3 separate regions of the Homo sapiens genome follow, and all the other regions are linked to region 3. Evidence: promoter capture Hi-C in 16 types of primary human blood cells and fetal thymus (Javierre and others, 2016). All regions are on one chromosome and are shown on one strand. The core of a region is centred on a gene start or on the middle of the fragment in contact, and the rest is flanking DNA. Distances in the headings are between cores, read along the strand shown. Region 1 holds the start of HDAC2 (histone deacetylase 2). Region 2 holds the start of MARCKS (myristoylated alanine rich protein kinase C substrate). Region 3 holds the start of CAHM (colon adenocarcinoma hypermethylated).

Region 1 (4,280 bases), core at 281-2,780, about 49 Mb after region 3:
CCGGAAGGGGCGCGGGAGTGGGCTCTCCCCGCCGGGCTCGCGGCACGTGGTCGGCTTGGGCGGGAGCTTCGCGACAGTGGGGGAGGGGAGCAGCGTGGGACGCCGAGGAGGGGTCCAGACCGCCAAGGCTACGAGGCGCCGACTGCGCAGGCTCGGGGACAGGCGCAACCACTGCGCGCAGACCTGAGGGGGAGAACGTCCACCCGGCTGCACGCTCCCTGGATCTACTTGCGCAGCGAAAGCTTGTCTTCTTCCTCATTTTAACACTGTGTATGGCGCCGCCTTGCGCAGGTTGTTCACCCTAACAGGGCCTCTAACCTCGAGCCCGAAACGGCCTCCTTCTCCAGCCGTGCCCCTTCCTCCCCCGTGGAGGCCGCAGTGGATGCGCTCACCTCCCTGCGGCCTCCTGAGGTGGTTTGGTGGCCCCCTCCTCGCGAGTTGGTGCCGCTGCCACCTCCGATTCCGAGCTTTCGGCACCTCTGCCGGGTGGTACCGAGCCTTCCCGGCGCCCCCTCCTCTCCTCCCACCGGCCTGCCCTTCCCCGCGGGACTATCGCCCCCACGTTTCCCTCAGCCCTTTTCTCTCCCGGCCGAGCCGCGGCGGCAGCAGCAGCAGCAGCAGCAGCAGGAGGAGGAGCCCGGTGGCGGCGGTGGCCGGGGAGCCCATGGCGTACAGTCAAGGAGGCGGCAAAAAAAAAGTCTGCTACTACTACGACGGTGAGCGGCCGGGCCGGTGTCGGGGTGGGCGCGCGGGGCCGGGCGCTGGGTTCCGCGGCTGCCGTCGCGAGTGGGCGCCGGGGCTGAGGGGTGGGAAGGAGGAGGGACCGACATTTGGCCGCATCTTAACCCGTTCCCGGCCCGGCACAGTTAGAACGAGACCCTCTTCCTGGCGCAGCCCCCGCGGTTCCTGCGGGCGGGAATCAGGGGGCCCGCCCGTCTTGTCTCCTGCCTCTCCCCCTTCGGCCGTGCAGTCCGCAGCCTCGAAGGTGGCCGCCGCTGGGGACGGCGCCGGCCTACCCCGCCTTGGTGGTGGCGGCGGCGAAGGGGGCGGCCCATTCTCTCCCTTCTCCCGCCCACCATTCGTGGCAACGCAGGTTTGGGGTGCCCCGCGTCGGCCTCCTACCCCCTCGACCCGTCCCCCGCGAGGCAAAATTTCTATCCCGGCCTTGACTCTACACAAAGCCCCGCGGCCGCGAGAGCTCCGCCCCTCCCGTCCCCTTCCCTCCTCCTCGCCTGCTCGCCTCCCCTACCCTGCGTTCGGTCTGGCCGGAGCGTCTTCTCCTTCCTCGGCTTACCCTTTCCCCGGACCCCTCCTCCCGGTGGGCGCTGGAGAGTAGTTACTGAGGGTGGGGGCTCAGGTCGCGTGTGGCTTTATCACACCCATGTTTTGCGTGGGCTCCAACCCTCTCCTTTGTTCGCTGGGTTCTTTGAGCGCGTCTTTCTCAGGATTCAAATGGAAGGGCTTCACTTCCTCAATAATAGTTCGGGTTTTCCAGTTTCAGGCAGAAAGACTTCGTAGGAAATAAGAGGTGGTAGGGAGATGTGGAACTGCTACTGCTTGTGTTGTAGATCAGACTCCATGGGTCCTGGCTTGCCTCAGAGAGGTGGTTACCACCCACTTCTTTGTTGCTCTTTGTTCGATCAGGAAATAGACCCTGCTTTGGGGATTTAGAGAGCATTGGTATCTTGCAAAGGCTGTTCCTAGGTGGTGGGGAATCCTGGTATGGGAAAACTTTGAGAAGTGGGAGAAGTGCAGAAGTACTAAATATTCTAATGAGGTAAATTTGAGGTCACCGTGTAGTGAATTATAAAAGTCAGATAATTTAATTATCTTAAGCATTCTATAATTTGGAGTATGAGCAGTAACATTAAATCTTCGAATCCTGTTTCCTGTGTTTTCTTGCTCAATGGAGTAGTAACCTGTTATACAGATTTCACAAAGGCTTGGTAAATAGTTTATAGTAGGTTACTCTTGAGAGAAGGGATTCCAAAATTTAACAGAGAATCTATCCTAGGCTCCTTCTCCTGAAAGTCCTGTCTGATTTGTAGGAAGCAATACAAATTTTGGAAGCTGTTTCCTACATGTGGTGTATTGTAAATCACAAAATTTTAGAGAAGTAAGACCCCAGAGCACCAGCTCAGAATAAATCTACTTTAACTTGTAAATGACCGTACTGTCTCTTTTTAGTTAAAAAGGATTAATCTTTTAATGACTGATACATATAAAATAACCACCTGTGTCATTTGGGGAAAATCTGAAATCTTACAGAACAAATCTAAATTGATCTGCGATAGCTAGGACAGAATAATAACAGCCCTACTTTTAAAAATGATTTTTCAGAGGACTAGATATGCATTATATAAGTTGATTTGAAATTATGCCATCGTGGAGGGGTGGAGATGGAAATACATTTTAATTTCAACATGATTTACATTGCATATTTTGGGTTATTCTTGCCCTGCATTCCCTGATCAAATTGGAAAGGAAGTAACCCTGCGTATAAGTTAATTTGTAAAATTACATTGTTTCTAAAGTTTAGAGATTTATCCTTGTCAGGGCTTGGAGTAAAGAGGAAAATTTTGGTTAGGGAAAGTGGTACTGAGGTCCTTCTCGAAGCTGTCAGTTGGTGTTGGTAGTGATGGGCTCTGAGGAAGTAAGCTGCTTGTAATTTGTTGTCACCACAATGGAACCCTAGAACCAGGAGGGTACACTTGAGTAGCAGTTTCTGAACAGCGCTCTTGTCCTGGGCCCATTTATGATAACCTTCGTTGTGGGAATGGGAGCAGGCACGGGTACCCGGGAAAGGATGCAAGCTTGATAAGTAGGGTGGAAATATTTGTCTTGTGATTGTGACTTAATATGATACTTTATTGTAGCCCATTCACCTGCTTACGTGATGGCCAGCAACAAGTGAATAGCTGATAGTTTGGAAATCTCTGGTGGGTTATTTTGTCTTTTGTCTGTGACTCGTTTGTTAAAGTGGAGTTCCTAGTTGCTTATGTTTCACATACTCTTTTAATTTTTGTGGGAGGGAATTAAAATATTTTGCAGAGATTATTAATGTTTATATTATGCTAATTATTAATATGTGATAGTGTGCTGACCTCATCCAAAAACTTATATTTTTATTACCAGAGAACATTGTTTTGTCAGCTTACAAAAGTAGCAATACTAATTCTTTTTTTATTGTGAGAAGAGAATGCAAGGAAAGGAGCTTCTGTATCAAAGAATCGTGACTTTAAGGTATATAACATGGATTGGATTGGGAATGGGTTATATCTGTAGTAATAGGGTCTGAATTATCTGCTAGCCTAGGTTAGATGGTTTTAACTTCTTGGTAAAGGAAGTAGAAGGAAGAAAGTGAGTGAAAAAGAAAAGGACGGAAGTAGCAAATTCTATAACCATAGGAATCCTACCTTTAGGCTTCCTGGGGCTGTTAGGCACACGGAGCCTCTTGGCCACACAGAATGTCTGCCACTGAGGCTGTTTGCATCTTAATGAAAGAACTTTTAAATATATACATATTGTTCTCTGCACGTTATGTAATCTTCAGGTAACCCTTTAGGTCACTGAAACGTTGGTCCCAAGGGAACCTTCAGACATTGATGGATTAGGTATCCTTAAACCTTTGAAGAAAAGTAAGAGAAGTTATTACTTCTCTGACTGTAGCTATTGATCCATGCCTCCAAATTCCCAAAAACATACTTCTGAATCATGTTCCTTCTTTATACACTAGAAGATCATCAAGAATCTGTAAAATGATACAGCTAATTAGATAGTCACTAAGATCCCTTCTGGGCCTTAAAACGATGTGATTTTTCTCTACTTAAATATAATTAGCAGCTAAGCTGTGTTAGGCTCTAGTTATACCACTCACATTTTTAATACTGTATCTAGACATGTTTATGCTTTGTTTTGAATTAATCTTGAGGCCAAACATATTTAGTGCTTGTTTTTATGGTGTATACAGTATAATAGGGTTTATATACCTAATTTATGTAACTATACACAAATTTCTCTGTGCTCTATTTTTTCCTCCTCTGAGAGGGATGCATAATCAGTTTTGGAGACAAGTGGTCCAGAAAAAAACACTCAAAGACTGTATACAGATAAAACTATATAAATACAAAAGTTATCAAGATTAGGCCAGGTGTGGTGGCTCATGCCTATAATCTCAGCACTTTGGGAGACTGAGGCAGGCAAATCACCTGAGGTCGGGAGTTTGAGAAGAGCCTGGCCAACATGGCGAAACCCCGTCTCTACTAAAAATACAAAAATTA
Region 2 (4,402 bases), core at 341-2,840, about 50 Mb after region 3:
GACAGAACAGAACCGATTAAATACACTCCGGATAAAAAAATTTTAGTCGAAGAGATCAAAAAGCAGCAGCACAGGAGGGAGGGAAAAAGGGTGGAAAAGTCGAGCACAAAAAAAGGAGCCCAAGTGTAGTTCGAAAAAAAAAGAAGTAATAAAAAAATCCCAGATTTGTAGCCGCACTGTAGACAAGAGGAAAATGGAGAAATCTCCCTGGTTGCTAATAAGATGCGGGGTCCAACGCCCAAGTGCACAGATGAATGGGCTCGCGGGCGCTGACGCGGCCCCCGCGCGCGTCGGCCAATCCGCGCGCCGCACACAAAGCAGGGGGCGGGGTCTGCGCGCCTGGCGAACAATGGAGCCGCGCTTTGCAAACGGTTTGAAAATCAGCCTCAGACCGAGAATTAATGTCCTCCAAATAAATAAATCAATTAAAAAATACATGGCACTCGTCTCTCTCTGCTTGAAAATAATAATGCATTTCTTGATTGGCTTGCTTTGTTTGGAATTAATTAACACGGGAGGGGGGTACTTGTGCATCGGGGCGGAGAAAGCGTTAACTTGACTCGCATTGACTCTCGTCGGTCTATATCCGTGTGTCTCTCTCTCTCCACTCGCTCCCCTCCCCCATCTTTCCGTGTGTTTATGTGTATGTGTGTGTATGCGAGTGTTAAAGACAATGGTTGCGATTTGTGTGTTTGCAGCATGTTTTCTTTCTTTTTTCCATATTGGTTTTACAGATAATGCTCAGGGTTTGTTTTTTGAACTGCTGCAATGGTTAAATCGTCCCAAATTGAAAGGTATTTAAACCACGAAGATCGAATTTCATCAAGCGAGATCGCAAGTTAGAATTAGGTCTGTAGGCCAGATGTGGAAAATGCAAAAGCGGCAAACAGCGAAGCCACACTCCCTTCCCTCTCCCACATTGGCATGAAATAAAATATTTTGAGATTGGCCTTGGGCGCTCAACAAATTCCCCCTTCTCTGGCTATTCCCAATTAGTGATTTTTTTCCCCCACAATTCAAAGTGAGAGCCATTTACAGAAGATCGAAACTCTTCGCGTTTTATCACTGTTTTAAATGACATAATTTTCCTCTATGGTGAAATGAGACACAGCCTCGAGTAGACGAATCCATATTTACAGTTGGGATGTTATTCGCGTCAATATGGATCGTTTTCAGCCTACTGCCAGAATCGAATGGACTCTTTTTGAACGTGTGTGTGAGTGCGCACGCAGGCGAATGTGCTCCTGAAAGGAAGGGAGGCAGCAGCAACGATGACATTCTAAACCGGATTGCAGTTCTAAGGAGAAATGTTCTGTATGTTGAGAGATAGCAAGATCCCTGAGCTCTCCAAGTCTAACTTGGGTTAGAGGAAAACCTTCTATAATGGTACACAGGATACCTCCATCTGTCACTGCACTCCTTGCCACCGAAGTACCAGACGCTTTTTGTGCGTGAGAGACAAGGCACTGACTTAAAGTATGAGGGGTGAGGGGAACCAAGGAAACAGCTTAATAAGCATTTTCTTCCCAAAGTTTTCACTCGTGGCAAAATCAGACCACCTTTTCTCGTTTACATTTGGTGATCTTGCAAGGAATAATCTTTCGCTTATGAAGGTGAGAAGCAGTCGAGGGAATGGTTCATTTCTCCTGGTGCTGGCTCTGAATTCTCAAACAGTTTTATTTTCTGCTCATTGTAGGGAAATAGGTCACACTCTGAGTGAAAAAGACGGTTGGTTCAAGCCAGTAACTCTTTGTTCAAGCGTTGCTTTAAAAATCACCAAGCTGAACATTGTTACGTGAAGCTTCGTCTTCTCACTGTCCAGTTCCTTCAGATGCATTATTCGACCATGGTCATATTCCCCAGAGCTGATGTAAAGACGTTTCCGTAGAAATGCATCTTGCCAGCAAACGTGTTATTACCCTTAAGAGAGCCCGCTGGCCTGGCCCACGACCCCAGCCGCCAGGATGGACGCAAATCCCTTGTATTAGCAGTTCCAACTTGAAAAGCCAACTGGGCTGATCCGACACCACCATCCAGGCGATTCCCAAAAGCCCATTTAAGGCTCTTGATTTCCCCCCACCCCCAACGTGAATCATGCCCCTTCCTCCGCATCCCCCTCCTATTTTAAATTGGGGTGACTGCTAGCTCGCTTTCAGATTTTCTCCCAGACGCGTCCTTAGCCCTCCATTTGGGGGCTGCTTTTATTGCTCCTTTGTTACCAGGCTGCCGTGTAGCTTTCCCCCCTTTTCTTTCTGGTACGCCTATTTGCCTGGTATCGGCTGGTCTCCCTGGCAACGGCCGGGGAAGATTCGGAGCACTGGGCCGGGGAGGGGGAAGAGGCGGAGCCGGCGCTGGGGGGTGACGGTGGGGGAGACGGGGGCTGGGAGTGGTGGAGGGGAGAGGGGCCGAGTGAGAGACTGGGAGACAGACTGCGAAGCAGATGGCCGCGCGAGGGGGCGGGGTGCGGGCGGGGTGCGGGCGGGGCGCGGCGGGGGGACAGTCCCAGCGTCAGGGGCGCAAGGGAGCCAATCAATTCCCGCAGCAGCTCCGGGGCAAAAAAAAAAAAAAAAAAAAAAAAAAGTGTAAACACATAGATTCCCTCCCCACGAGCGGTCTCGGTCTCTAGTTTACAGTAGAAAGATGATTTCTTTTTGATACGCAAGCGCATTCTACGGTAGCTGGAAAGCCGACAGTCCCCAGCAAGTGGCAGGCGGAGGCTCCTTGGGGGCGCTGCCGGCGGCCGCTGAGGGCTGGGCCACCCTTTCCCCAACCTCCCCCAGCGACTAGCGTCGTCCAAGCAAGGGATTTCTTCAGCTTATAGGGAAGGGGGTCCCGGCGGAGGATGGGTGAGGAAGAACGGGCTGGGAAATGGGAAACGGTTGTGGTTCTTCTTGAAAACCTGCATAATGACAGGGAAGGAAGGCCAAGAACGTGGAACTAGTAGGGAAGCAGTACAGTGCAAGTGTGGCTCGCTCCTCAGGAGTTTGGTGTTCTCACACGCAGAGTTAAAGGTTTCAAATAAAGCGCCAAAAGTGTTTATATAAATATGACTAAAGAACCCAAGAGTTCATAGTGAAAATGTAAAACCGGTGTCTGTAACCAAATCAGCAGGAAGAAACGGTCATTTATTTTTTATTTGTACTCCACTTTCACCCTGCCCTAACATATTTGCAAGATAATAATAATCGGTGTATAGGTTTCTTTTTAGAAAAAAAGCAATTTATTTAAGAGACCTGTTATTTTTCTGCAAAATGTTAGCGTTGGAAAGAATTTTAGAGACCATTCCACAAAATCTTGAGGGCCCAGTGTGCCAAACACAATAATCTAGATCTTGTTTTCATATCATTGAACAATATAAACTCAGTCTCTGACCTTCAGGGGCTTCCAATTTAGAAGATCATCTAGTGAAGTTGAACTGGAGCACCTGGCTTCCCCCTCTCAACGATGAAGAAATAGGCACCAGAGCGTTGCCAGATTTCTCAGATGGTAGAGCCACGAATAGAGCTCAGCCCCCTTGATGATTCTGAGTCCTGGCTTTTTCCACCACTGCCAGTGCTGCCATCTTCCCTTGATGGCACAGATTCACTCAGTAGGTCAGTCATTCATTCTTAAAGTATTTATTAAGGTCCTCCTAAGTGCGAGGAAAAAGGCTTTAGACATCAGCTTACACCAGGGACAAATATAGACATGGTCTTTCCTCTCATGCAGCTTACATTTGTATTATTATTTCTTAAAACTTCTTAATATGTGAAGAAAGAAAGAAAAACAAGATTAACTGTGTGCTTAAAAAACAATACAAAAGATGACAGCCACTTTGTAGATTCCAAATTAAATACGCCTTTTTCACCTGGAAGCATTCATGCATTCACAACATATGCAATCCCACTGTGCAGGCAGTGTTCTGCTCCATCCTTCATCTTAGATTTTATGCTACTTGAAATTTAATTCCACAGAAATTGATTAGCTTGCAATGTGGTGGGGAGGAAAACAGACATAGCCCCTCAGTTCACTCGGCAAGCATTTATTGAACTCCTATCATGTAGTAGGCATTTGGGATATGTCAGTGAACAAAACAGACAAGAAGTCTTTATAAAGCATACATTCTTGGGTGGGGAGAAAAGCACAAGTTAAAAAAATGTAAGTCAGCAAATTATATGAAATGTTAGAAGTCTGTAAGTGTTGTGGGAGAGGTGGAGTGGTGGGGGAAACTAAAGCAAAATAAGGGAGATGGGAGTTCAGGGGAGAGTTGAGATGTAATTCCATATAGGCCGGGAAAGGCCTCATTGAGAAGACAAACTTCGAGCAGATTTGAAGAGGTGAGGGAATTAATAATGCAGATGGCTCACTCAAATGCTTCTAGCCTAACAAGAGAGGGGAGAAGCCAGCATTTAACAATGAGATC
Region 3 (4,154 bases), core at 1,118-3,617:
CTGCTATGAGAACTTCTTAAGGAAATTCCAAAGTTGGTCAACATTAATCTTCTTGTCATTCTTCACTCCCCACAGCGCTCCATACAGCTTTTTGGAAACTTTGGCTCAATTTTATTTCGCCCTTTCCAAACGTCTCGAAACCCTGTCCTACAAACTCAGGCGGCTGCGTCCCCGGGAGCAAACCCTCCGCCCAAGTTCTTCTAACTCAGGCTGCGCTCCGATCTGTCATCGCGTTATTTCGCACTCCACCCCCCCCCCCCCCACCCCCGAAAAGTGAAGTTCAACTCCCTAACAGTTCTCGCTTCCCCAAACAAAAGGGAAAAAAGTGCTTTTCGCCGTCACTTAGTCCTCCTTGTCGGCTACGCCAGCATAATTTCGGTCTCCTACGGAATTTCTTTAAACTAACGAGCCCCACACTGACTTCCACTTAGTATTGAACAGCTGCACCAACTCCCCAACCACGAAACCCCGCTTTAGTCCTCACGGGAGGGGAGAGCTCCCGAACGCGGGGCGGTGGGGGTCCGCGCAGAGCAGGCTCGGGAGGCCGAGCGGAGGAGCGGGGCCCGCGCCGGGCACACGCGTCCTCCAGGCCGGCGGCGCGGCGTGGGCCTGCTCTCGGGAGGGCTCGGCGAGGACCACCGAGTCCGCGCAGCCCCCGCCGACCTCTCGGAAATGTGACCGCCGAAGCTAGAGGGGCCGCAGGGCTCACCCCGCAGCCCTCCGCAACGCGCCAACTTGGACGCCAGCGGCGCGGGGTCCCGGCCGGGCAGGGGGCGTCCGGCACCGGCGGGTCCACCCCGGCCCGCCCGCCCGCCGCAAGCCCGGCCCGGCACCTCCTTTGTGCGCCCTCCTGGCCTCCCAGTCCCCCCGGCGCTCGGTCCCGCCCGGCCGTGACCTTCCCGCCCTCCCCACCATCCCAAGCGGGGAAAGGGGCCGCCCCGGCGGGGGTCGGGCCGGGGCCGGGGCCCTGGAGACGCTCACCTTCGTCCAGCAGCCGCTCGAGGTGGTTGAAGATCCCGCAGAAGTTGGGCAGGCTGCTCATGAGCTTCTTGTCGTTCATCAGCTGCATCAGGTAATCTGGGGTGGGCTTCGGCTTCTCCTTCGTTTCCATTTCCCCGACCATATTCCAGGCTCCGCAGCTCACTCCGCCCGCCGCCGCCGCCGCCGCCGCCGGAGAGGAGGGAGGGGCGGGGGCGAGCCCCGGCCGCGGGCCGCTCGGGACCCGGCGTCCCGCTCCGCGCCGGCTCCCGCTCTGGCTCCCGCGCCGAGCCCCGGGGCGGCCGGCACCGCGCGCTCGCCCGCCCCCCGCAGGCACTTTCCGCCCGGGCCCGACGCGCTCCCAGCCGCCGCCGCTCTCGGCCGCCCGGCTCGGCGCGTCCCTCACGAGGCCGGCGGGCGGGCGGGAGGCGGGTCTCGGCTGGCCGAGTGCGGGCGCGGGGCGCGGGCTGCTGGCGCCGGACGAGGAGGAGCCGGGGCCGCCGCTCGCTCGGCTGGTCGAGCCCGCTCAGCGCCGCCGCCGCCTGTGCCGCGGGCTCGGGGGGTCTCTCTGGGCTGGTCCCCGCCGCGGCGCCTCTGCCGCTGCCGCCGCGCTCCGACTGCGCTCCTCCTCTTCCTCCTCCTCCTTCTCCTCCTCCTCCTCCTCACTCACTTGGCGGCGGAGTTCGCCTCAGTTCAGGCGGCGCTGCCAGCGGCGGCGGCAGCAGCGGCGGCGGCGGGGGGAGGGGCAGCGGCGCGGGGAGGGCCGGGGGCGGGCGGCGGGCGGGGCCGCGCAGGGCGGCCGTTAGCGGGTCCCGGCCGGCGCGCTCCCGCTGCCTGCTGCCCGCCGCCCCGCGACCGGGGCAGCCGCCGGCGCCGCGCCCCCTCCTCCCTGCCTCCCCGGCGGGGCGGGCGACGGGGGCAACGGGAGTGTGACGGACTGCGGCGCTCGGCGGGCCTGGGCGCAAGGACTGGGTCGCCGCCGTGCGGGGCGCCCGGGGCGGGTGGGTGTGGGCTGCGGGGCCGACGGCCGCGGGGGGGGCGCGGGGCTTTCCACGGCACGGGGCGGGTGGGGCTGCGGGCGCGGTCGGGGCTGGCGCGGCAGGCGAGAGGAATTCCAGCGGGACGCGCCAGCGCTGCCTCCGCCTCGCCTCCCGTTACTATAGTTTTTTCAGAACCTCTTATCCACCCCGCAGAAGAGAAATTTTTTTTTAACGTCCTGTTGCTTCACGGGGGACTTTCGGGGTGGGCATCACGTGGCCCGACACGTAGCCGTGGGGCTCCAGAGCGCGTGCGCGCGTCGAGCCCGGTCGCCACGCCCCTTCCGAGGGTCGCTCCGCCCCCGTCGGGCCCCGCGAGCGCGCGGTGGGGGAGGGGAGGGCCCCGGAGCGCGCCTGCGTGGGGCGGGGGCGGCAGCCGACTAGGGGCTGGGTCTGGCCGTTTAGGGCCGGGTCTTGGCCCGTCGCCCACGGTGCGGAGGGCTGGTGGGCTTTCCTTGGCCGTCGGGCCCGCCACGGCGCGGGTCTTGGCTGCGGGGCGGAGGTGGGGCGGGAGAGCCGAGGATAAGAGTTTGAGGCTTTTCGAGGCGCGTGCCGCGGCGTCCGCCTCTGCGGGACTCTGCGCCGGGCGCCCTCGGCCGGCGCGCCCGGCTCCCGCTTTGTCGCCGAGGGAAGCACGCGCGACGCCCCTCCCGTCGCCGCCGTGGCTTCTTTCGGTGTTCGTGATTTGCTGAGAGGCTGGAAAGCAGCACGGCGGAGAGGAGCCTTGCACTCGCCAGGCGGGAAGCCTGCGCGGACACGCGTGCGCACCCACGGGGCGGCGGGCGGGCGTGGGGGGTCCGGGCCACGCGGGCGACGCGCCTCTAGGGAAGCGATCTTGTTGCACCTTCCCGTTATTCTGAAAGCAAATCGTAGCCAGACCCGAGCGCAGCGGCTTAGCAAATAATAAGGGGAGCGTCAGTCGTGCTCGAAATGCTTCCTTCGCGATGGCGTCAGTGTTCCGTGAGGGAATGAAGCCGCAGTAGGAAATAAAGAGGCTGTGCGCGTAGTCTGAAAAGCAGAAGTCAACATTTTTACAGATGAAGAAAGAATACGGAGGCAAGAGGTCTTTCTCTGCAGTTTGGTGGATTTCCAACATTTAGACTTGTTTGGAAGAATTTCCTCAGCTGCACCAATGAAGTCCTTGATCTATAGAAGTCGGCAGTCCCTAAATCTACGTCTGCATTTTGTTGCAAATCCTTTATAACATTCCATTAAAATAATGCAGAGTTATTTAATATCCAGTTGGCCATCGTGAGAGTAATTCGCGGCTGAGATTTTGTTAATCATTCTGTCTTCTGACTTAACAGTGAACGTAGGTGATTTTTTTTGTAAAATGTTGCTTCACATGAATTGTGAGAATCACCTCTAAGTTTGAATTGTACTGAAGGCACTATAAGAATTTCAAATGAACGCTGAGTAGCCAGTAGCCTTCTGGCCTTTTCGTTTAACAAGCACAGAGTTCGTTTTTAAAATTAAGTTACTTTGACAGAGGAAATGTAATAGCCTTGGTAGACAACATTAAAAATGTAACTGTCAGATGTTTTAAAGTCTCCAACAGCCGTATCTGTTTTAGAGCCATAGAATATTTACTTACTGAATTGCCTGTTTAAAGATGAACTTTCTAAATGCAGGGAATAGTAACTTGCAAAAAAGCTATGGTCTCTAAGTAATGAAGGCTGTTTCAGTACCTAGAAAAATCAAAATCAAGGTTTTGATGCTGCTAGTGTAAAAGATGCAATCCCCTTCTTAATGGCCTGCTTATTTATTAAGCTCCTAGGCACTATGCTGAATGCCCTACATGCATATCTCGTTTAATCATCAGTACAACTTGGGCTTAGGTTAGACTGTTATCCCCATTTTACAAATAAGGGGAAACCCAAGAAAGATGAAGTTAAGTAACTTGCCCAAGAATATAGCTAGTGAGTCCTGTGTCTGGGATTATAATCCAATTATATTTTATTCTAAAGCTTTTTTTTTTTTTTTTGCTTTTTTTCCTTGCCCTATCCTTTAAATCAGGTTGAATTTTATGACAATATTCCACCATTTTTGACCCATAGAAATGGCAGTGTCATAAGGCTCAACCACTTAAACCAGATTAAAGAACAATGATAGGCAATTTTCATTTCCTATGTATTAAAT

Evidence for each region. The method cuts DNA at HindIII sites, captures the fragments that hold promoters and counts their contacts. A CHiCAGO score of 5 or more calls a contact.
Region 1: a contact is called between a fragment that was not itself captured here and the fragment with the promoter of CAHM in region 3, in 3 of 17 cell types (total CD4 T cells, non-activated CD4 T cells and activated CD4 T cells). The highest score is 10.9, in total CD4 T cells.
Region 2: a fragment that was not itself captured here is called in contact with the fragment with the promoter of CAHM in region 3 in 1 of 17 cell types (fetal thymus); the score reaches 7.7 in fetal thymus.

The regions. Positions count from the first base shown.
Region 1 is chr6:113,967,293-113,971,572 of GRCh38, reverse strand. It overlaps HDAC2 (histone deacetylase 2), which reads left to right and starts at 425. Exons shown (of 14, transcript NM_001527.4): 1 at 425-716. The coding sequence starts at 665. HDAC2-AS2 (HDAC2 and HS3ST5 antisense RNA 2) reads right to left here and starts at 1,872. Exons shown (of 10, transcript NR_125845.1): 1 at 1,295-1,872. RefSeq lists silencers at 1-94, 70-513, 455-754, 965-1,284 and an enhancer at 1-908. The HindIII fragment of the contact is 2,571 bases long and covers 245-2,815 here.
Region 2 is chr6:113,853,189-113,857,590 of GRCh38, reverse strand. MARCKS (myristoylated alanine rich protein kinase C substrate) reads right to left here and starts at 246. Exons shown (of 2, transcript NM_002356.7): 1 at 1-246. RefSeq lists enhancers at 165-214, 2-545, 546-1,091, 1,362-1,411, 1,432-1,491 and a silencer at 2,282-2,491. The HindIII fragment of the contact is 426 bases long and covers 1,378-1,803 here.
Region 3 is chr6:163,412,163-163,416,316 of GRCh38, reverse strand. CAHM (colon adenocarcinoma hypermethylated) reads left to right here and starts at 2,367. Exons shown (of 1, transcript NR_037593.1): 1 at 2,367-3,252. It overlaps QKI (QKI, KH domain containing RNA binding), which reads right to left and starts at 1,599. Exons shown (of 8, transcript NM_006775.3): 1 at 982-1,599. The coding sequence starts at 1,123. It overlaps LOC124901234 (basic proline-rich protein-like), which reads right to left. Exons shown (of 4, transcript XM_047419614.1): 2 at 2,232-3,703; 3 at 1,649-2,068; 4 at 1,141-1,352. The coding sequence starts at 3,111. The coding sequence ends at 1,141. RefSeq lists silencers at 581-770, 971-1,020, 1,271-2,090, 2,181-2,960 and enhancers at 1,041-1,694, 1,695-2,347. The HindIII fragment of the contact is 4,236 bases long and covers 1-3,984 here.